7 separate regions of the Homo sapiens genome follow, and regions 2, 3, 4, 5, 6 and 7 are each linked to region 1. Evidence: promoter capture Hi-C in 16 types of primary human blood cells and fetal thymus (Javierre and others, 2016). All regions are on one chromosome and are shown on one strand. Each heading gives the region's core, a stretch centred on a gene start or on the middle of the fragment in contact. The rest is flanking DNA. Distances are from core to core; before and after follow the strand shown.

Region 1 (3,043 bases), core at 119-2,618:
ACTGAAACAACTAGCAGAAAATACATTTTCTGGAGTTCTTTAATTTTGTACGCTTAAAAGTATGGTGTTCCTAAAGATGGCTAATTCTTGTTGAAGTAAGTAGCTCTGGAAGTCATATTTTCCATTTCTCCATACTTCATCTATTAATCAGTTGACTGGCAATTTCCGACACCAGTTTTGCTAAACTTTATAAATTTTGCTTCCTCCAGAGGTAGGAGGGGGAAGGAGATGGGCAATACAGAAACAGATTTTACAGCCAGAATATGACAGGGCCCCTTAAACTACAAATAGATGTAGAATTTTAAATGTAGCTCTGTAGTTCAATTTATACCACAGAAATTGCGAGATGCTATCTTCCTGTTGTTATAACGTATCAGGTCAAGGGATATAAATTGTACCAGGTAATTCATTTTGCTGTTCAGAGAGTCATTAAGTTCCTCCCAGAATATATGTGATTGATATCCCTGGAGGTGAAAGGCTAAAGGAACCATATGGCAACATGTTGCATTCCGTATGCTATCTGCCCATCCGTGCTTAAGCTGTCATTAGCAACATCTGTACCTTACGGAAATCCAGCTGCGCCGACGACGGCTGACGGAATTGTACTTGGGGGGAAAATCTAGCTTAGCGCCATTAACTTGAGACTTAGAGTCTATCTACCAGGACGGATGGAAGCTTTCACAATTAGACGAGACGACACGAATGCTTTATTAAAGTTTAATTTTGAACTCCCAATTAGCGAAAGTGCATTACAAATCGATTGCAATTTCCTAGAAGGTGCAGCAAGTTCTCTGCCTGCCTGCCACGTGCGAGACGCTCCACAGCGAGCTTCCCCAGCTCCGGGCAGCAGAAAGGGGATGGTTCAGAGCCGATCTCCGCATCCCAGGAAGTCCCTAAAATCCGCGCCAGCCCCTCCTCCCGCAGGGCGGGGGCGTCCACGGCGCGAACCCGCCAGAGGTGTAGGGGGAAGTGTGGGGGGCTGGTCCGCAGCCTTCGAGGGGTGGGGCGACAGGAGCGAGCGGCCGGGGGAGGAGAAAAAGGCGGGCGGCGGGAGAGGGGGCCTCTATTATCTCGGCTTCTCGGGAGGAGCCTCATCTAGTCAGTCACGCAGAAGTTTCTCTTTCGCTCTTCGCGCTACACACCCAGATTGGCTTCCAGCGCGCAGGCGAGTGGGGCGAAGGAGGGGGGACAGGAGTCCCGGAAGGGCCGTCCGGCGTTCACACCCACCCCTGTTCCGCTCCTCCCGCCCCAAACAAAGTCCCCCGACTCTAGGTCCAGGATACGTTACCTGCCCGGCGCTCCCGGCCCCTCGGTCACCGCATCCCCCGCTGGGCGCGCCTGGTACGGGTCCCGCTCCCCGGGGCTCACAAAGTGGTCGCCCCTGGCTGGGCGGCTGGGTAGATGCCCCTCTCTGGACATGTTGGGGCGGTTTTTGGGGTGGAGGGAACGCGGGAAGTGAAAGCGGAGGCTGGGACAAGGGGAACTTACTGATAAAATGGAAAAAAAAAAAGCCCACAGGGCCCAGGTCCTGGCCGGGGGCGAAAGAGGCCTGTTACCTTTCGGGGGGTCGCGGCCGACCAAGAAGGGAGCCGGGGAGTCGCCCGCCCCCCTCCCCCGGCCCCCGGCCCCCGGCCCCCGGCGGCTGCGGCAGCTGCACACAGAAGCCCATTGTCGCCGGCGTCCGGCGCGCAGCCCCGCGGACTCGGCCCCGCGGCCAAGCGCGTCAGCGGCCCCGTCAGCCGGGCCGGGCTCCGTGACGCGCGCGCAGCCCGCGCTATAAATAACCTGCCGCCGGGCGGCTCGGGCGGCTTTCCAGTGACGCTGGGGCGGAGGCGCGGTAGGAGGAGGGCGAAAGGAAACAATAAAACCGCCCGGCAGCCTCCCAAGTCTCCCTCCTCCCTTCCCAGGCCGCCCGCGGCCCTTCGCGTCGAGCTCCTTTTTCCCCGCCCCGGCCCGCCCTGCGGGGAGCGCGGTTCGCGGGTGGGAAGGAGCCCGGCGTGCTGGCGTCCCCGAGTGCTGCCGGGGCCCCGGGGCGGGAGGGGGTTTTTCCCGCACCCTGGGATGGCGAGGAGGGAACTTGGCGACAAGTTTAGTGAGGGGATCGCTGTGTTCCTTTCTAGTCCAGTTAAAATGACCCGAGCTTTTCCCGCTCCCTCACACACCTATTCTAGTACAGGTCGGATGTGTTTTTGGGGTAGTAAGTCCTCAACCGAAAACAAAAGCGAAAAACCTGTCGTCTTCAACGTAAGCATTATCTAGGTTTTTGTGGGGCCAGGCTTGCATTAGTGTTTTCATTCGGGGGGTTGTATTATAGAAAGGGTGCCCCGTAGTAGCAGCGTGAGGAAGGGTTCCAGGACCCAGGCTGTCAGCTCCGGTGCATTTACAGGTCTTTTTGCCGTAGAATTTAGCATAGGCCTGAAACATGGCATAAATGAACTTTCTAAAAGTCTATAATCTCAACGTTAAAGAGCTTACTTTTTAACTCTGGACTTTAATAAAGGCTCCCACTTTAAAAGGGGCTTTCTCTATAGGAAAGTATTAATATTTTTGTGGAGACTCTCACTGCTACCTTCCATACTCAGGCAATTCTGTCACACACCCTGACACTTGTCCTACTCATTAAGGTACCCACATACAACTGGAGGTAATCTGTTTTCTTGGACCAACAATTAATAGACTATAAAACTGTATTTCGTCTTGAGCAAAATGTCTCAGCTATGAACATGTTTTCTGAGGTTCTGATATAGACATAGATAAAAATTTGCAGATGCAAGCAAGGTGTTGCAGTGACTTGGCATGGTTAGAGTGAGTTACTAGTGTTGGGGGAAATGGTTCTTAGTTCACTAGTGAGGCAAAGTGGTATAGTAGAAGGTTCTCTGAGCTGGGGTTTAGAAGATAAAGAAATTTGAGTTTTAATTATGTCTTCACTGTACTTTTCTGTGCCACCTTGCAGAAACCACGGCCTTTCTCTGCCGCACTTTCTTCATTAACATTAAGGACTGATAGTTCCTTTTCTACCCTTACATTCTAGGATGTTAAAGGA
Region 2 (2,964 bases), core at 407-2,906, 920 kb after region 1:
ACTGATAAGTGAAGGTACTCAACAGCCGTATGTTCAATATCTGTTAACTCAGTTCCCTAAGTCAAACAATATTTGCCAGGAAGTTGGATTGGGGAATGTCAAGATTGAGACTTAGCACATGTGGCATGTAAACAATGGCCTTGTTTGGCTTCTGTAGAAAATTCTTCTTTGTGATCTAGGTAGTCAGCATTACATTTTAGTCAGTGTTACTAGGAGGAAGGCAGATACAGGAGAAGCTTTATCCACATTAGAAAGAAGAGTCTCTTCATTGTGATGTCGGCTACAACCAGGTCGTTTTCCATCTCTTAGCCATCAGCAAACAGCTATCAGCCATGCACTGCTTATACCAAGCACTGTGCCATTCACGCTTCTCACCCTGGTGATAATCACAGTCTTGAGGAGAATGCAGACATACTCAAAGATGAGGAAACTGAGGCCCTGGGATGCTAGATTGCCTGTGGTCACAAAGCTAGTCATTGTAGAGAAATGATTAAAATTCATGCTCAAAATTATTCTGCACTCTCTTCCATCTCTTGCCAATCTCCCCTCAAAAAGGATCCTAAAAATTGTGTTGGCCCAGCTCTAATCTAAAGTCCTGTGTATCACAGGATTACACATGCCAGCTTTGAACACAAAGTGCAAGGAAATGAAGTAGCCGTTAAAGCAGTTTCATTTTAACATGCCCTTATTGACCTGGCAGGCTGCTAGGGAGTCTGGGGAGGAATTAGACACTGCACAGAAGCACAAGCTCCAGTTCCAAACCAGAGAAAAGGCACATGCGTGGCGGGGGTGGGGGTGCTCAAAGCAAGTAATAACGATGTTATCACTAGTGTGGCTCATTGAAAGCTCGGGGACTCCCAGTGCTTCTTAGTTTCTATACTTTGTTCTGTAGAAGTTAAGCATTGCAGCCCAGGAAAGTTACAGTCAGGCTCTGTCTTCTGAAGGAGGTTGTCCCAACTGTAGGAAAAATTGACACATGTGCTTGAGAGGATGAGTCAGAGAGCATGTGGCCAGGCCTCCTCCCTCTTATCACATAACCCACCTTGGCTAAATATAGGTGTGTCTCAAGCTGCCTGGCGGATGCTACGCTCCACTCAGGGGTCTACCACCAGGGATCCTGGACCTGGGGCCTCCCAAAGTATTTTTCAGTCCTTTTGTAGTCCTCTTCTTTGAAAGAGGATAAATCATTTTTTGTTCTTTTACCCAAACACCTTGACTATAAATATGTGTAAATTATGTATTCATATAGATAAAGGTTAAAGAAAATACAATCAAAAAACATTTGATTCATCAGTTTGGCAAGATTTGGAGTGTTTTTTGTTTTTGTTTTTTTAAATTTGGCTTTATTTATTTTCAGCCTGGCTCAAAAAGCGTTTGAGGTAGCTGCTTACAGGAATGCATGCAATAAGATTTTTTAAGATAATAAGTTTTCGAAGTCAGCATAAGGGGAAATTGTTATAAAATAGAATAAGAAAATGAGTACATGTGTGTGAAAGAAAGAGAGAGAGAAATAACTGTAAGAATACAGGAGGGCTAGCTTAAAATTAGCTGGAGTAGCATCCTACTGCAACCTTTAAATTTTAAGAGTTTTGGAGAATATCTTCCTTTTTGGCCTATTCATTTCCCCAAAATCCACTGTTATAGATGAATTCACACATAACTGTCATATCACAACTGCTCATTGATACAGAATGAACCAAAAAATGTAAAAAAAAAAAAAAAAAAGCGCACAGATTTGGTATAATCATTTAAATTCAACTTCACCCAGTGAAGATAATAACTAGTCGGTAGTTAACATCATCTTAAAGATGAATGAGCTGATGTGCTAGGGTGAGGTTACCATTAAGAAGTAGAGGACAGGCATGGTAGCTCAAGCCTGTAATCTCAGCACTTTGGGAGGACATGGTTAGAGGATCCCTTGAGCCCAGGAGTTTGAGATCAGCCTGGGCAATATAGTGAGACCTCATCATTACAAAAAAATTTAAAAATTACCCAAGGGTGGTGGTGCATGCCTGTAGTCTCAGCCACTCAGGAAGCTGAGGTGGGAGGATCACTTGAGCCTGAGCGGTCGAGGTTGCAGTGAACCAAGATTGTGCCACTAGCCTGGGTGACAGAATAAGACCTTGTCTCAGAAAACAACAACAACAACAACAACAACAACAATAAAAAGGTAGAGGAGACAGGCAGGGATTTCCAGGACAACTTCTCTTACTCTAGTTCTAAAATCAGATTCTCTTTTCCAAACCTGCTTTTTCACTCCGTTTTCTCTGGAGTCCCAAAGGACCATTGCTAAAATGTTAAGATTCAATTTCACAACTCTTTTTTTTTTTTTTTTTTTTTTTTTTTGAGATGGAGTCTCGCTCTGTCACCCAGGCTGAGCGCAGTGGTGCGATCTCGGCTCACTGCAAACTCCGCCTCCGGGGTTCACACCATTCTCCTGCCTCAGCCTCCCGAGTAGCTGGGACTACAGGCACCCGCCACCATGCCCAGCTAATTTTTTGTATTTTTAGTAGAGACGGGGTTTCACCGTGTTAGCCAGGATGGTCTCGATCTCCTGACCTCATGATCTGCCCGCCTTGGCCTCCCAAAATGCTGGGATTGCAGGCGTGAGCCACCGCATCCGGCCCACACCTCTTTTCTAAAGCACAAGAACTCCTTTCTGTTCTCAGGGTTACTCACACTGTCCTTTTCTGTCTGCCCATGTTTCTCCCCTTTGTGGTATAGCAATAGCACCCTGCACATGACATTTTCTCCAAGCTGGGCCCTTAGCATAAGAAAAGCTAATCTCTTTGCTCTTCTCCACCCTTTACAGTTGTAACCATCCACTGAGGTTTTCATTCACTGGTCCCTTCCCACAGCCTCCCTCCATCCTCACCATTCTCTTGCACACATTCTAATTCAATGTTGCTCAGAATCCAACTGTGGCTTCCTTCCACCTGGACCATGAGGTAGCTGTGACCTCTA
Region 3 (2,929 bases), core at 243-2,742, 900 kb after region 1:
AAATCAGTTAAAGCATGTAGAGACTTTCATACACTCAGCACATAAGATGAGTCCAAGTAGTCCATTTCCAGCCATTTCAGAAAAATTAAAATCATAGATGACACTGTTGAATGTGTTTTATGTGTCTGTGCTTTTCTAAGCACTTGACTCATACTAATTCATTTAATTCTGACAGTAATGTGAGGTTGGTGTTCTTATTACCCTTCATATTACAGAAGAGAAAACAAACACCCAAAAAGCTTAAAGTATTTATCCAAGATCCCAAAGCTAAAAATGGCAGAACCAGGATTCAAACCCAGACAGTCTGTCTCCACAGCCTTTCCCTAGTGTTCCTCAATGGGGCCCTGTTATGTAGGGTAGTATAATACATGATTGGATGGCACTGACATGCATATTGCAGGACATAGAGCATTCCTCCCCTTTTGCCATTAATTACTACTAGCACCCACTAGGCATCGTGACAACAAGAAGTGGTACCTAACTTCCAGCATTTCCAAACATCTGAGGGTCTATTCACCTACTCACACATTCTCTCTGTTTCTATCCCACCCCTCCACACACACACAAACACATACACAATCCAGTATACATACATGCATTCACATACTCACACACAGCCAAAATTTGAAGTGAAAATTAAAAGTTAACTGAGTTCAAAGTTTTCCTTTCTCTATTCTTTTTTCTTCCTTGTTGCTTTCTTGACAAACATTGCCTTTACTCCATCCTTATATCTAGAGGGCATGGGGAGGAAGAAGAAAAGAAAAGGAAAAGATAATAGAAACACAAAAATTAAAGGTAAAGAGAAAAGGAGGAAGAATAGAAATCAAACAGAAGGCAAAAAAATAGATATCTATAGGAACTATTGAGATAGGAGTTTTCTGCTCCTAAGTCACTGAATGAAGTAAAAGCAATCAGTAAATCAAAACCATTATCTGACTTGCCTTGCCTCAAAACTCATTTATGTATTTCAGAGAACCACTGAATTTCAGAATGGAGCTGGTCCAGCTAATGCTGTAGTCCAAACCCCCACCTAATGGAAGAATACCCCCTACCGTTTCTGTGACAGATGGCCATTCATCCTCTGCCACATGTCATTTACAAGAGCAGGCATATCGTTAACTACTTTTAGAAGAAATACACGTGTCTTTTGTTTAGTACTAATTGTTAGAAAGTCATTCTCATTTAGAACAGAAATCTGCTATGCTCCAGTCTCAGTTCTCTCTTCTGGAACCATACGGAATGAGTTAAACCCTTCTTCCACAGGATATTCCTCTAAAATTTTGAAGTGGTTATTATGTTGCTCCTGAGTCTCCTCCTACCCAAAATAAACATATGCAAAACATATGATCTGCCCTCCAAAAGGTAGTATACCTGGTAGTGTATGGCCAATGTCCTCAAAAGGCCTGTTTCATTTCTTCCCGAGTAGTAAATTTTTTCTTACAGAGCTCAAAGTCAGCACCTCTGGTGTGTATTTGTGTGGGTATGCTCTGTGAACTCTACATATATACATATGTATAAATATGAATATGCACACACAAACGAAGCACACATGGAGTTTGTACATTTGTATATAAATATGTAGACACAAATGTGTATATCCATGTAAAATATGCACATTGCTCCTCTTTCCTTCTCTTTCAAGTGCTCCTTTCTTGTGTGTTTTCAGGCCAGCCCCAATACAACCAGAGCTCACCTATTTTTAGGTTTATTTCATCCCTCTGGAACTGAGTTGGGTGCTTTCAAGTTCTATGTACATTTTTTAGCTTAACCAGGAGTGGATGCTTAACAAACCCTTTTCTCCTGTGTGCCCAGCCCTGAGTATTAATCCTCAGCTTCCAAGAGTAAGAAAAACACTCAAGCACACGGCATCACAAGACCTGAATGCCTCTGAAAGTATGTGATAACAGCAACGAAGTTGAGATCCTGGAATAACCAAACCTGACATTAATCTGAACCCATTTTTCTTTTCCTCTCTTAGTTTGATTTCTAATTAGGTATTGCTTCTGCCTTTTTCTCTGTTTATCACTTACCCATTTCCTACCCTATTTTCAGAGGAGAGAAATAAAAACTTTTCTTTGATATTGAAGGAAATGTCCAAAGGGTCCTGAGTTCAAGTCTCTTTCGTTTCTCTAACTGTAGTCTGAGTTTCACACTTCACTGCCTTTGCAAGCCTCAGATGGAAAGGTTATTTCCAGGTTATGATAACATTATTGGATCCAAAGTCATTGTCATCATTTCATTCCACAGAAAGTTATTTTGCACTTTCCCCTGGGAGCAGGAATTGAATTGGTGGGGAGCAGGGCAGGGGGAGATCTGAAACAGCTTCCAGCTTTTTCAAAAAGATTTTCATTTCATCCCACTTCTTCACAGCACATGAAAAGAGCCCTCAAATGCCCTACATAGCACCTGCTGTCTGCTCCTCCCACAAGACTTCTTTTTCTACTCCTCTCTTCTTCCTTCTCTTTTCTTTGCTATAATGGAGGCCATAAAGAGGACAGGATCATTTCAGGGGGATGGATGAGAAGAGGAAGGAGAGTCAGGATCAGAGGACAGGACCCGTTCTGAGGGCATTCCCAGGGCAGCACCTGGGAGGCTGCAGGGCAGCAGTAAGTTGGATAGGGGTTGCTGCTCGGATGGAGGTTGTCAGGGCCAAGGGTAGGGGACCCAGCACTCATGTTGTTCTGCGTGACAACTTTGCTTAGGCCGAGCCCTACAGAAACTCGCTCAGGTCTTTGTTCTCTTAACTCAAGCTTTGCATATGAATCACTGAAACTTTTAAATGAGTGATTCAGAGAGCAGCTGAAGATTTAATTCAGTTTCTGCCAAAAGAGACCACGGAAGGATTTTTATATCATTACTAATAGATTTTCAAAGGGCAAAGTCCTAACATGCCTGCAGTTGTTAAAGAATGTCTCTTTCTACAAATAAA
Region 4 (2,852 bases), core at 331-2,830, 940 kb after region 1:
CTAGCTCCTGGATTCACTGATTTTTTGAAGGGTTTTTTGTGTCTCTATCTCCTTCAGTTCTGCTCTGATCTTAGTTATTTCTTGCCTTCTGCTAGCTTTTGAATGTGTAAGCTCTTGCTTGTCTAGTTCTTTTAATTTGTGATGTTAGGGTGTCAATTTTAGATCTTTCCTGCTTTCTTTTGTGGGCATTTAGTGCTATAAATTTCCCTCTACACACTGCTTTAAATGTGTCCCAGAGATTCTGGTATGTTGTGTCTTTGTTCTCGTTGGTTTCAAAGAACATCTTTATTTCTGCCTTCATTTCGTTATTTACTCAGTGGTCATTCAGGAGCAGGTTGTTCAGTCTCCATGTAGTTGTGCAGTTTTGAGTAAATTTCTTAATCCTGAGTTCTAATTTGATTGCACTGTGTTCTGAGAGACAGTTTGTTGTGATTTCTGTTATTTTACATTTGCTGAGGAATGCTTTACTTCCAATTATGTGATCAATTTTAGAATAAGTGCGATGTGGTGCTAAGAAGAATATATATTGTTGATTTGGGGTGGAGAGTTCTGTAGATGTCTATTAGGTCTGCTTGGTGCAGAGCTGAGTTCAAGTCCTGGATATCCCTGTTAACCTTCTGTCTCATTGATCTGTCTAATATTGACAGTGGGGCATTAAAGTCTCCCATTATTATTGTGTGGGAGTCTAAGTCTCTTTGTAGATCTCTAAGGATTTGCTTTATGAATCTGGGTGCTCCTGTATTGGGTGCATATATATTTAGGATAGTTAGCTCTTCTTGTTCAACTGATCCCTTTACCATTATGTAATGGCCTTCTTTGTCTCTTTTGATCTTTGTTGGTTTGAAGTCTGTTTTATCAGAGACTAAGATTGCAACCCCTGTTCTTTTTTTGCTTTCCATTTGCCTGGTAGATCCTCCTCCATCCCTTTATTTTGAGCCTATGTGTGTCTCTGCACATGAGATGGGTCTCCTGAATACAGCACACTGATGCGTCTTGACTGTTTATCCAATTTGCCAGACTGTGTCTTTTAATTAGGGCATTTAGCCCATTTACATTTAAGATTGATATTGTTATGTTTGAATTTGATCCTTTCATTATGATGTTAGCTGGTTAGTTTGCCCATTAATTGATGCAGTTTCTTCATAGCATCGATGGTCTTTACAATTTGGTCTGTTTTTGCAGTGGCTGGTACCAGTTGTTTCTTTCCATGTTTAGTGCTTCCTTCAGGAGCTCTTGTAAGGCAGGCCTGGTGGTGACAAAATCTCTCAGCATTTGCTTGTCTATAAAGGATTTTATTTTTCCTTCACTCATGAAGCTTAGTTTGGCTGGATATGAAATTCTGGGTTGAAAGTTCTTTTCTTTAAGAATGTTGAATTTTGGCCCTCACTCTCGTCTGGCTTGTAGAGTTTCTGCCGAGAGATCCACCATTAGTCTGATCGGCTTCCCTTTGTGGGTAAGCCAACCTTTCTATCTGGCTGTCCTTAACATTTTTCCCTTCATTTCAACTTTGGTGAATCTGAAAATTATGTGTCTTGGAGTTGCTCTTCTCATGGAGTATCTTTGTGGTGTTCTCTGTATTTCCTGAATTTGAATGTTGGCTAGGTTGGGGACATTCTCCTGGATAATATCCTGAAGTGTGTTTTCCAACTTGGTTCCATTCTCCCCATCACTTTCAGGTACACTAATCAAACATAGATTTGGTCTTTTCACATAGTCCCATATTTCTTGGAGGCTTTGTTCATTTCTTTTTCCTCTTTTTCCTCTAAACTTGTCTTCTCACCCCATTTCATTAATTTGATCTTCAATCACTGATACCCTTTCTTCCACTTGATTAAATCGGCTATTGAAGCTTGTGCATGCATCACGAAGTTCTCTTGCCATGGTTTTCAGCTCCATCAGGCCATTTCAGGTCTTCTCTACACTGTTTATTCTAGTTAGCCATTCGTCTAGTGTTTTTTCAAGGTTTTTAGCTTCCTTTTGATGGGTTTAAACATGCTCCTTTAGCTCAGAGAAGTTTGTTATTACCGACCTTCTGAAGCCTACTTCTATCAATTTGTCAAAGTCATTCTCCATCCAGCTTTGTTCCATCGCTGGCTAGGAGCTGCAATCCTTTGGAGGAGAAGAGGTGCTCTGGTTTTTAGGATTTTCAGCTTTTCTGCCCTGGTTTCTCCCCATCTTTGTGGTTTTATCTACCTTTGGTCTTTGATGCTGGTGACCTACAGATGGGGTTTTGATGTAGATGTCCTTTTTGTTGATGTTGATGCTATTCCTTTCTGTTTGTTAGTTTTCCTTCTAACAGTCAGGACCCTCAGCTGCAGATCTGTTGGAGTTTGCTGGAGGTCCACTCCAGACCCTGTTTACCTGGGTATCACCAGTGGAGGCTGCAGAACAGCAAATATTGCTGCCTGATCCTTCCTCTGCCTGAAGCTTCGTCCCAGAGGGGCACCCGCCTATATGAGGTGTCTGTCAGCCCCTACTGGGAGGTGTCTCCCAGTTAGGCTACACAGGGGTCAGGGACCCACTTGAGGAGGCAGTCTGTCCATTCTCAGAGCTCAAACGCCGTGCTGGGAGAACCACTGCTCTTTTCAGAGCGGTCAGACAGGGACATTTAAATCTGCAGAAGTTGTCTGCTGCCTTTTGTTCAGCTATGCCCTACTCACAGAGGTGGAGTCTACAGAGGCAGTAGGCCTTGCTGAGCTGCGGTGGGCTCCACCCAGTTTGAGCTGCTTTGTTTACCTACTCAAGCCTCAGCAATGGTGGACGTCCCTCCCCGAGCCAGGCTGCCGCCTCCCAGTTTGATCTCAGACTGCTGTGCTAGCAGTGAGCAAGGTTCCATGGGTGTGGGACCTGCC
Region 5 (3,017 bases), core at 75-2,574, 880 kb after region 1:
CTTTGTAGGGACATGGATGAAGCTGGAAACCATCATTCTCAGCAAACTATCGCAAGAACAAAAAAAACAAACACTGCATGTTCTCACTCATAGGTGGGAATTGAACAATGAGAACACTTGGACATAGGAAGGGGAACATCACACACTGGGGCCTGTTGTGGGGTAGGAGGATGGGGGAGGGATAGCATTAGGAGATATACCTAATGTAAATGACGAGTTGATGAGTGCAGCACACCAACATGGCACATGTATACATATGTAACAAACCTGCACGTTGTGCACATGTACCCTAGAACTTAAAGTATAATATATATATATATATATATATATATATATATATATATATATATATATATATATAAATATAAAAGCTGATCCACCATTATCAAGTAGGCTTCATCACAGGAATGCAAGATTGGTTCAACATATGCAAATCAATAAATGTGATCACCTAAATAGAACTAAAACAAACACCACATGATTATTTCAATAGATGCAGAAAAGGCTTTCAATTAAATTCAATATCCCTTCATGTTAAAAACCCTCAATAAACTGGGCATTGGAGGAACATACATCAAAATAATAAAGCCCATCTACGACAAACCCACAGTCAATATCATACTGAATGGGCAAAAGCTGAAAGCATTCCTCTTGAAAACCAGAACAAGACAAAGATGCCCTCTCTCACCACTCCTATTCAACGTAATACTGGAAGTCCCAGCCAGAGCAATCAGACAAGAGAAAAAAGAGGCATCCAAATAGGAAGAGAGGAAGTCAAACTATCACTATTTGCAGATGACATAATTCTATACCTAGAAAACCCCATAGTCTCTGCCCAAAAGCTCCTTCAGCTGATAAACAACTTCAGCAAAGTTCCAGTATACAAAATCAATGTACAAAAATTAGCAACATTCCTATACACCAACAACATCTAAGCAGAGAGGCAAATCAGGAATGCAATCCCATTCACAACTGCCACAAAAAGAATAAAATATCTAGGAATACAGATACCTAGGGAGTTGAAAGAAAAAAATAAGATTAAGAGTCACCTCTGAGTTTGAAATTTTGGATTTAGCTAGATGAGTTAGCTAACACTCATATTTGAAGCTTATTTCAGACTCTACAGTGTAGTAGATATGCAATTTATATATTTTTATCTTTTTAATTGGCCTTTTATTCAGTAATCTTGCTAAATTCACTTAAATTGTAATAATTTATTTATAGATGCCTGAGGATTTCTTAGTTATGCAGTTATATCTTCTGAAATGCAATGACAATTGTATTTTTTCCTTCCCAATTCTTGTAGTTCCTTTGTCTTGGTTGACTGTATCAGTTAGGCTCTTCAAGACAGCATTGAAGAATATGTAGTAAATTTGCAGCCATATTGTTCCATTCTTCAAATCCAGATGAAAGTTTCTGGCATTCCCCATTAAGTATTATATTTCTGGATGTTTTTGTAGATACCCATTATTAAATTAAGAACTCCCTTCTATTCACAGTTTGCTAAGATGTTTGATCATGAATGGGAATTGAATTCTAGTCTAAGCTTTTTCTGTATATATTGAGAAGACTATATGATTTTTCTTTTTTAATTTGTGAAGTCCACGGATTTTTATGATGATAAACCAATTTTGCATTCCTATAATAAGCCTAACTTAATCATGATGTATCATCCTTTTTGTGTATTGCCATTCCGGGTTTACTAATACTTTGTTTAGGGATTTTATATCTATGTTCCTGAGTAAGATTGGCTTGTCAATTTTCTTACTCAAAATATTCTTAAGAAGTTTTCATTTCAAAGTTACGCTTGCCTCATGAAACAAGTTGAGGAATGTTTTCTTTTTATTTTCTAGTAGAATTGCTCTAAATTGATGTCTTTGTTCTTGTGGAAAGAAGAGATATTGTTTGATTGGTCAGCTTAGTTTGGTTTTATTTGGGTTAATTTGTTTACTTTTTGAATTCAGAATTCAATATTTTAATAGCAAAAGATATTGATGGTTTATACTCTTATTATTTCATATTAAAATTTTATATTAACACTCTTATTTCTTATTTCCATTCTTGCATCAGTTTTGGTAAGTTTTGATTTTTTAGAAATTTCTCAATGTCACCAAAATTTTCAAATGTATTACTGTAAGTCATTCATGATATTCTCCTTCGATATTTTTTGTTTCTGAAGGGTCTATAATAATGTCATTTTTTCCATTTATTATATTTGTTATCTGTCCTCTTTTTTTCTTGATCATTTTACCAAACATTTACCCATTTTATTAGCCTTTTCAAGTTAATCTATTTTATTTGCCTGTTAGACTTCTGGCTTTGTCAATTTCTATATTTTTAAGAGAAGCATGTTTAGATTTAGCTTTTTATTGATACATAATATTTGTACATTTTGTTACATGCATAGAATATGGAATGATCAAGTCAGGGTATTTGGGCTATCCATCACCTCAAATATTTATCATTGCCATGTGTTGGGAATATGTCAAGTTCTCTCTTCCAGCTATTTTGAAATCTACAATATGTTGTTGTTAACTATAGTAAATCTACTGTACTATCAAACATTATTTCTTCTATTAATTGTATGTTTGTATGTATGTTTGTGCCCATTAAACAATTTTTATTCATTCCCCCAATGCCCCCCACCCCCCACCGCCAACACACACCCTTCCCAGCCTCTTTCTACTCTCTATCTCCATGAGTTCTATTTTTTTAACCTCTCACATTTGAGTGAGAACACATGATATTTGTTTTTCTGTGCCTTGCTTATTTCAGTTCACATAATAACCTCCAGTTTCATCCATGTTGCTGCAAATAACATAATTTTATTCTTTTTATGGTCAGGTAGTATTCCACTGTGTTTATTTACCACATTTTCTTTATCTGTTCATCTGCTGATGGACACTTAGTTTGATTCCATATCTTGGCTATTGTAAATAGTGCTGCCATAAACATGGGGTACAGGTATCTCTTCAATATACTGATTTCCTTTCCTTTGGATAAATACTCAACAGTGT
Region 6 (3,205 bases), core at 11-2,510, 840 kb after region 1:
ATGTGGGAAGATCCCTTCACCAGGAGTTTGACTATATCAGGTGCTTATTAAAAGTAAAATTTCTGGGCAGATCTCTGATCTAAGAAATCAGAACCTCTGGTATAAAGCTCAAGAATGACAGTTCAAACAAGACTGCAGATGATTCTAACATATACCAATGAACTCTAAACTTTGAGAATCACAAAAATTCCATCCAGTCAGATGCCCTATTCAAAAAATTCTTGAATTTTTTTCTTTTTTTTCTTTACGTACTCCCTTTTGACCCATTAAGAGTCATATCTGAGCCGGACGCGGTGGCTCACGCCTGTAATCCCAGCACTTTGGGAGGCTGAGGAGGGCGGATCACGAGGTCAAGAGATCGAGACCATTCTGGCCAACATGATGAAACCCCATCTCTACTAAAAATACAAAAATTAGCTGGGCATGGTGGTGTGCACCTGTAGTCCCAGCTACTTGGGAGGCTGAGGCAGGAGAATGGACTGAACCCGGGAGGAGGTGAAGCTTGCAGTGAGCCGAGATCGCGCCACTGCACTCCAGCCTGTGTGACAGAGCAAGACTCCGTCCAAAAAAAAAAAAAATCATATCTAGCAAAAACAAACAAACAAATAAACAACAAAAACAACGCTTACTCTTCCCATAATCTTTGATGTTAATTTGCCAGAGGGTTGAATTATTAGGTTTGTGCAAAAGTAATTGTGGTTTTTGACATGATTTTCAATGGCAAAAACTGCAATCACTTTTGCACCAACTTAATATCTATTCTTTGTAATAACCTCTTCCAGAATAGCTAAAAGGCCAGGCTCCTCTGAGCCATCCTTGAGTCAACTTAAGATGCAGACACCTTTTTCTAATTGGTGTTGCCAGCAGGGGGCACTTGTTTTGAATCTGACCCCTTGGGAAAAAGCAATTTCCCTCATTTAACCACATTTACTATATTGTGACAGTATTGCACAAATACTTTTGAATTAGTTCCTCAGGAAGGCAGTCAATGCAGAAAAAGACAAACATTCAGACCTTAAAGGTCTACATTTGCTTCTTTGAAATGTGTAATGTACACATGGGCTTTCAAAGGCATTAAAAATTTTCAAAGTCCCTACTATGATAAAATATATTCTTCCAAAATAATCACTACCATTGACACTCTTCAATTTATAAAGCACTAGTTAAAGCATTTCACAACTCCCAAGAAGTAGATGTGCATTTTAAATTGGTGACATGACTTGCCCTGAATCACGTAGCCTGTATGTAGCAGAGATGGAGATCTGTAGGTAGCCATAGGAGCTCTCCACTCAAAAGTAAGTATTTTCTCTCTAACCTCTTGTCCAGCTGCCAAGAGATTCATTGTTTCCACTATAAGAGCGTGTCCATCCCTCCCCTCAGTACCATCAGTACTGTATAAATGACTTTATGGTTTTCTCAAAAGTAAGAGTATTAATTACAACTCTCTGTCATTCAAACAAGTGGAGATTTATCACATTTTACCAAAAAGCACTTTTTAAAACAAAAATGTTTCTTGTATAGCAAAGATAAGGGCTCATCTTTGGACCCCACAAACCGCTGATATCCCCTTAAAGGCTCACTTTTCTCTTTCATTCTTGCCCCATCACCAGAGACCAGGTTTTGACTCCCAGTATCAGGAATTCTACCTCATATAATTGTGCAGTTGAGCTGTTGCACTCCACGTAAGACTTCAGCCAAGAAGACAACAGGGTAGCTGGAAGGCCAGACTTCTCTCAGCCATCCTGGAGTCAACTTAAGATGCAGACACCTTTTTCTAATTGGCATTGTCAGTGGGGGGCACTTTTTTCAAATCTGTCCCCTTGGGGAAAGCTATTTCTCTCATATGCATCAAAGCACTGTATATGCCTGTTGGCCCTACCTATATGTATCTCAGGATTAAATAAATAAATAAATAAATAAAAGCTATTGCCTTGTTTTTCCAGGAATAGTTCTGTAGTTTTTGCAGAACAAGAAGTCTGCATTCAAAGTAACATGCAGTTTCACTGTTATTGCCCTGTCCAAGCTTGTGGTGTAATTTCTTCTTCATTCACTCAGTCTCACAAAAGGGATAATGAAATCAACTTTCATCCAACTTCAGGCAATCATAAAACTCTGAGATTTACAGCTACCACTGCAAAGTCAGTGAGTATTGTAAGAGCCTTGAATTAGAACAAGTAGTAAAGAATCCATGTAAGAATAGGAAGCTCTGAGGTTGTATATACTAAGACCTTAGTGTTACCTAGACTCACCTCACAGCTTGTGGAAAAAGCTGATTCCTGGTCCTACCATAGATACTCTGACTTGGATCTGAGGAGGGCCAGCTTCATCTTGAGAATTCTATGTAGGGTAGGGCTTAGGGGAGGCCATCTGGTTGGAAGACGAAGCTGGGAGGTTTGCCATGAGGCTATGTTTGTAAAGAAAGCACACTCTTTTTAACTTAGTGTGTATGTTACAGATCAATATCAATATAAAAGTTTCCTAAACTTTTACTCACACTTTATATAAAAGTGATTACATTGGCCATATTAAAAGTAAGATTTTTATTTGGGAATGAAGGGAGCTGATGGAGACTGGGTTGGCTACTGCCCTTGGCACCACCACTGAGTTTAACCCAGATGTCTGCCTTTTTAACCATCACCATAGAAAAGCCTAGTTTATTTATTCATCCACTCAACAAAATGTTTATTGAGATACCAGTATGTGCTGGACATTGTTAGAGATATGTTCTTGGGACACAGTAATAAAAATAATGAATAATAATAACAACAAGCTCTGGGTACAGTGGCTCATGCCTGTAATCCCAGCATTTTGGGACGCCGAGGCGAGTAGATTGCTGGAGCTCAGTAGTTCCAGACCAGCCTGGGCAACATGGCAAAACCCTGTCTCTATTGAAAAAATACAAAAATTAGCTGGAGTGGTAGCATGCACCTGTAATTCCAACTACTCGTGAGGCAGAGGTGGAAGGATCGCTAGAGCCTGGGAGGCAGAGGTTGCAGTGAGCCGAGATAGCTCTCCTGCACTCCTGCTTAGGTGACAGAGCAAGACCCTGTCTCAAAAAATAAATAATAATAGTAACAGGCAATAAATTCTTCTCTGTGGATTACATTCTAGTTAGGGGAAGCATGCAATAAAAAAACCATAATATATAAGAAATTATAAACTACGTTAAAAGTTTTTCTTCATCTTTGAGAAACATGATCTTGAG
Region 7 (2,902 bases), core at 323-2,822, 960 kb after region 1:
ACTGTTCAAATAACAACATGTCAAATATAACTGTAAAATAAATTTACAATTTTTAATTTCAACCGCTGAGCAGAAAAAAAAAAAAGAAAGGAATTTCCACTATTCTAATATTTCCCATTCCAGCAACGCAGAATCTCAGTCAGAGTAATAATAAGCTTTAACCACCAGAGGGCACTAGAAAACTACCTTTGGGCTCCGCTGTTGCGCTAACCTGAGTGAGTTCCTATGAAATTTCTGGAGAGCTCTCCTAATGAAACAGCCTTCTGCTGATGCCTCCGCTATACTATATCAAAATGCACCAAGTATTTTAAAAAGTGATTTTAACAAATTCCTTCTATTTTCCTTTGTTGTCTTCCTTAAACAAATTTCAGTGAAGATGTAGTTTGCTCCCTTCTGAAGCAAACCAGCAGGGAGCGTTATTAACATTTTTAAAAAATTAGGACCTTTCTCCAGGTAATTTACAACAAATTAAGTAGATCATTATTTTAGATAGACAATCGTGGAAAGTTCCAAGAAAATAAACTCCACAACTTCTTTTTGTTACTTGCTTCGTTTCCCTTCTTTCAACCTCCACTACGGAATTTAGATCCAGTGAAAGTTTTGTGTTTTGTAATAAGAACAAACATTTTCTTATCGAACCAACAATATTTGAAGCTAATAATCTCACCAATAATGTATTTTTCACTGGATTAAACTGCTGGCAAACAGTCTATAGCTCCGTTTCCCTTTTTTCAACCTCCACAAGCAGAAATTTAAATCCAGTGAAAGTTTTGGTTTTTTGTAATAAGAAGAAATATTTTCTTATTGAAACGACAACATTTGAAGCTAATGAAAGAATCTCACCAATAATGTATTTTTACACTGGATTAAACCGCTGGCAAATAGCCTAATGTTTAACAATTCTGTCATAAATTGTGCGGAATGTCTACTTCCTAAATTGGAAAATGAAATAATACAACATGGATAATTTAAAATTCATACACTGCCTATTTTTTTTAAAGATTAAAATGGTTTACAGTAAAAACATGGATCAATTATTTTTAAATAAAAAGGAAAATTCTGAAAACAACTAATAATGAAATGAAGAATAACAATTCCAAAACACTTCAGAGATGATGTCTATATGAAGAAAAGTATTAGGTTGGTGTAAAAGTACCTTCCATGGCAAAAACCTCAATTAAATAGTTTCCTCAGTAATTTCTAAGAAAAAGGAAAAAAAAATCTTCAGGTCAAATGAGGGAGGGACATGTAAGGGACAGAAAAGTTTTATCTTTCCTTCCAATGCTTTTCGGTTCTTGGAAGGATTATACAAAATAGACACAAATAGTTAAACAGGGGGTTCCCAAACACTGTCCTGACCAATGTTACTTGTGCTGTCTCAGGGTTCCATGGTCAAGCACATTTGAGAAACATTTGTACAACATTCTGACAGCAAGCTGAACATTAACACCCTGAAGATTTTGAGAAGTTCTGGAGTAGAACCACCTGTTCGGCTCTGTGGAAACCAGAATTTTCCAAATTTGTTTGAAGATAGAATATTTCTGCATGATCCACAAATACAGGAGCTTACATAATATTTATCTCTGCTTCAGTACAGAGAGCAATTGCAGCATGCTTTCCTTCCTTTAAGCCCCGAGATTATTCTACCTTCATGTCTTTCTATTCACCTTCCTCTCTGAAGTTCAGGGGTGGGACTGTGGGGGCATTGAATCCTTCTGTGCCTTGTGATGCCCACATTTACTAACAGTGAGCTGTCTCCTCCCATATTTGTCATTTTAAATTGCTAATAGAGCTTTCTCTGAGGATTTTTGATAGAGATTCCATCCTTCCATAGTTGCTTTGTTTCTGCCTGTGCCAGGCACCTCAGAAGTAATTAACAACCTGGTACTATTTTTAATGTTTGTTTCTATGCCTTGAAAGTCTGTGATGGTTCCTATCCAAGGCAGGTGGTGTAAATATTCATCTCAAATCCAAATGAAGCCTGGTGTAAAGTTTCAGATTCTCAGGGACAATCCAGCTTCCTTGTTTTCTCCCTTTGCTAATGGGCAAATTGTTTTTCCCAGTGCAGCATTCAACTGAAGATCTGTTTTTCCGCTGTTATGTGGAAGACCTGAATTCCAGATTTTTGGTTTACACATACCTCTGTTTTTCTTCCATCCATATGAGGGAACAAGTCTTTCTTGCCAACCTTTGCAAGTTTCCCTGTAGCCTTTAATTTTTTCCGCATATTCTGATCCCTGAAGATGTCCCTTACTTTCTTGTTCACTAAGCTAAGCATGTAAAATTGAGGACCAATGTACTGAGCCCCCTTTTATGAAGTCTGGCAATTCTGTGAGCATCCAGTCTGCATCAGTGCAGCACCCTGAGTTAGAGCTCTTTGTTAGGCATCATAGAACAGGAAGGACACAAATAGTGTCCCTGGCAACAAAGACTTCAGCTCCTCCCAGCTCAGGAGGCTTTCCCAGGACATGTCCTATAGATTCGGCTCTGCACAGCTGTTCGAGAAATCTGAAAACCCTAAGTTGCACTGTTAACCCATCATCTTGTTAGCCCTGCCCAGGATGTCAAAGGGGGAAAGGAAATCAACATTTTTCTGCATTAAATGGTGACTTAAAGAAAGCTACCTCCATATTTGACCCTGTAAATCCATTAAAAACCTGGGGGCCTGCCAGAAAGTGCCTTTATGCTTGGCTCTGTATTAGCTTTCGTGACTTTCCTATAATGAATTGTAGCTTGCTTGGGTCATTAAGAAGATTCTGACAGGGAATCAGCTGGAATCTGCTGTTCTTTGAAGGACTCAATTTATCTATGATTCAGTGCTTAAGCAGTCAAAAGGCTTGAAGGGGTCAGTCAGGGAACATAGCTCATAACTCTTATAGGTGCATTGACTTTTAGTATATGC

Evidence for each region. The method cuts DNA at HindIII sites, captures the fragments that hold promoters and counts their contacts. A CHiCAGO score of 5 or more calls a contact.
Region 2: a fragment that was not itself captured here is called in contact with the fragment with the promoter of FLJ46875 in region 1 in 1 of 17 cell types (erythroblasts); the score reaches 22.0 in erythroblasts.
Region 3: a fragment that was not itself captured here is called in contact with the fragment with the promoter of FLJ46875 in region 1 in 1 of 17 cell types (erythroblasts); the score reaches 7.9 in erythroblasts.
Region 4: a contact is called between a fragment that was not itself captured here and the fragment with the promoter of FLJ46875 in region 1, in 1 of 17 cell types (erythroblasts). The highest score is 6.7, in erythroblasts.
Region 5: a fragment that was not itself captured here is called in contact with the fragment with the promoter of FLJ46875 in region 1 in 1 of 17 cell types (erythroblasts); the score reaches 6.6 in erythroblasts.
Region 6: a fragment that was not itself captured here is called in contact with the fragment with the promoter of FLJ46875 in region 1 in 2 of 17 cell types (endothelial precursors and M1 macrophages); the score reaches 8.0 in endothelial precursors.
Region 7: a fragment that was not itself captured here is called in contact with the fragment with the promoter of FLJ46875 in region 1 in 2 of 17 cell types (erythroblasts and naive B cells); the score reaches 7.4 in erythroblasts.

Annotation. Positions count from the first base shown.
Region 1 is chr2:156,340,752-156,343,794 of GRCh38, forward strand. It overlaps FLJ46875 (a long non-coding RNA gene), which reads right to left and starts at 1,369. Exons shown (of 1, transcript NR_147695.1): 1 at 1-1,369. RefSeq lists enhancers at 274-829, 830-1,383, 2,591-2,650 and silencers at 931-1,030, 1,571-2,180. The HindIII fragment of the contact is 3,407 bases long and covers 674-3,043 here.
Region 2 is chr2:157,260,501-157,263,464 of GRCh38, forward strand. All of the region lies in intron 1 of GALNT5 (polypeptide N-acetylgalactosaminyltransferase 5), which reads left to right. Among named protein-coding and RNA genes, the nearest start is that of GALNT5, 4.3 kb to the left of the region's middle. The HindIII fragment of the contact is 2,845 bases long and covers 235-2,964 here.
Region 3 is chr2:157,243,823-157,246,751 of GRCh38, forward strand. No RefSeq gene overlaps it. Among named protein-coding and RNA genes, the nearest start is that of GALNT5, 12 kb to the right of the region's middle. RefSeq lists an enhancer at 2,139-2,929 and a silencer at 2,713-2,802. The HindIII fragment of the contact is 2,511 bases long and covers 238-2,748 here.
Region 4 is chr2:157,276,768-157,279,619 of GRCh38, forward strand. All of the region lies in intron 1 of GALNT5 (polypeptide N-acetylgalactosaminyltransferase 5), which reads left to right. Among named protein-coding and RNA genes, the nearest start is that of GALNT5, 20 kb to the left of the region's middle. The HindIII fragment of the contact is 534 bases long and covers 1,314-1,847 here.
Region 5 is chr2:157,224,693-157,227,709 of GRCh38, forward strand. No RefSeq gene overlaps it. Among named protein-coding and RNA genes, the nearest start is that of GALNT5, 32 kb to the right of the region's middle. The HindIII fragment of the contact is 439 bases long and covers 1,106-1,544 here.
Region 6 is chr2:157,178,199-157,181,403 of GRCh38, forward strand. No RefSeq gene overlaps it. Among named protein-coding and RNA genes, the nearest start is that of GALNT5, 78 kb to the right of the region's middle. The HindIII fragment of the contact is 1,522 bases long and covers 500-2,021 here.
Region 7 is chr2:157,302,510-157,305,411 of GRCh38, forward strand. All of the region lies in intron 7 of GALNT5 (polypeptide N-acetylgalactosaminyltransferase 5), which reads left to right. Among named protein-coding and RNA genes, the nearest start is that of ERMN, 22 kb to the right of the region's middle. RefSeq lists a silencer at 101-180. The HindIII fragment of the contact is 2,838 bases long and covers 154-2,902 here.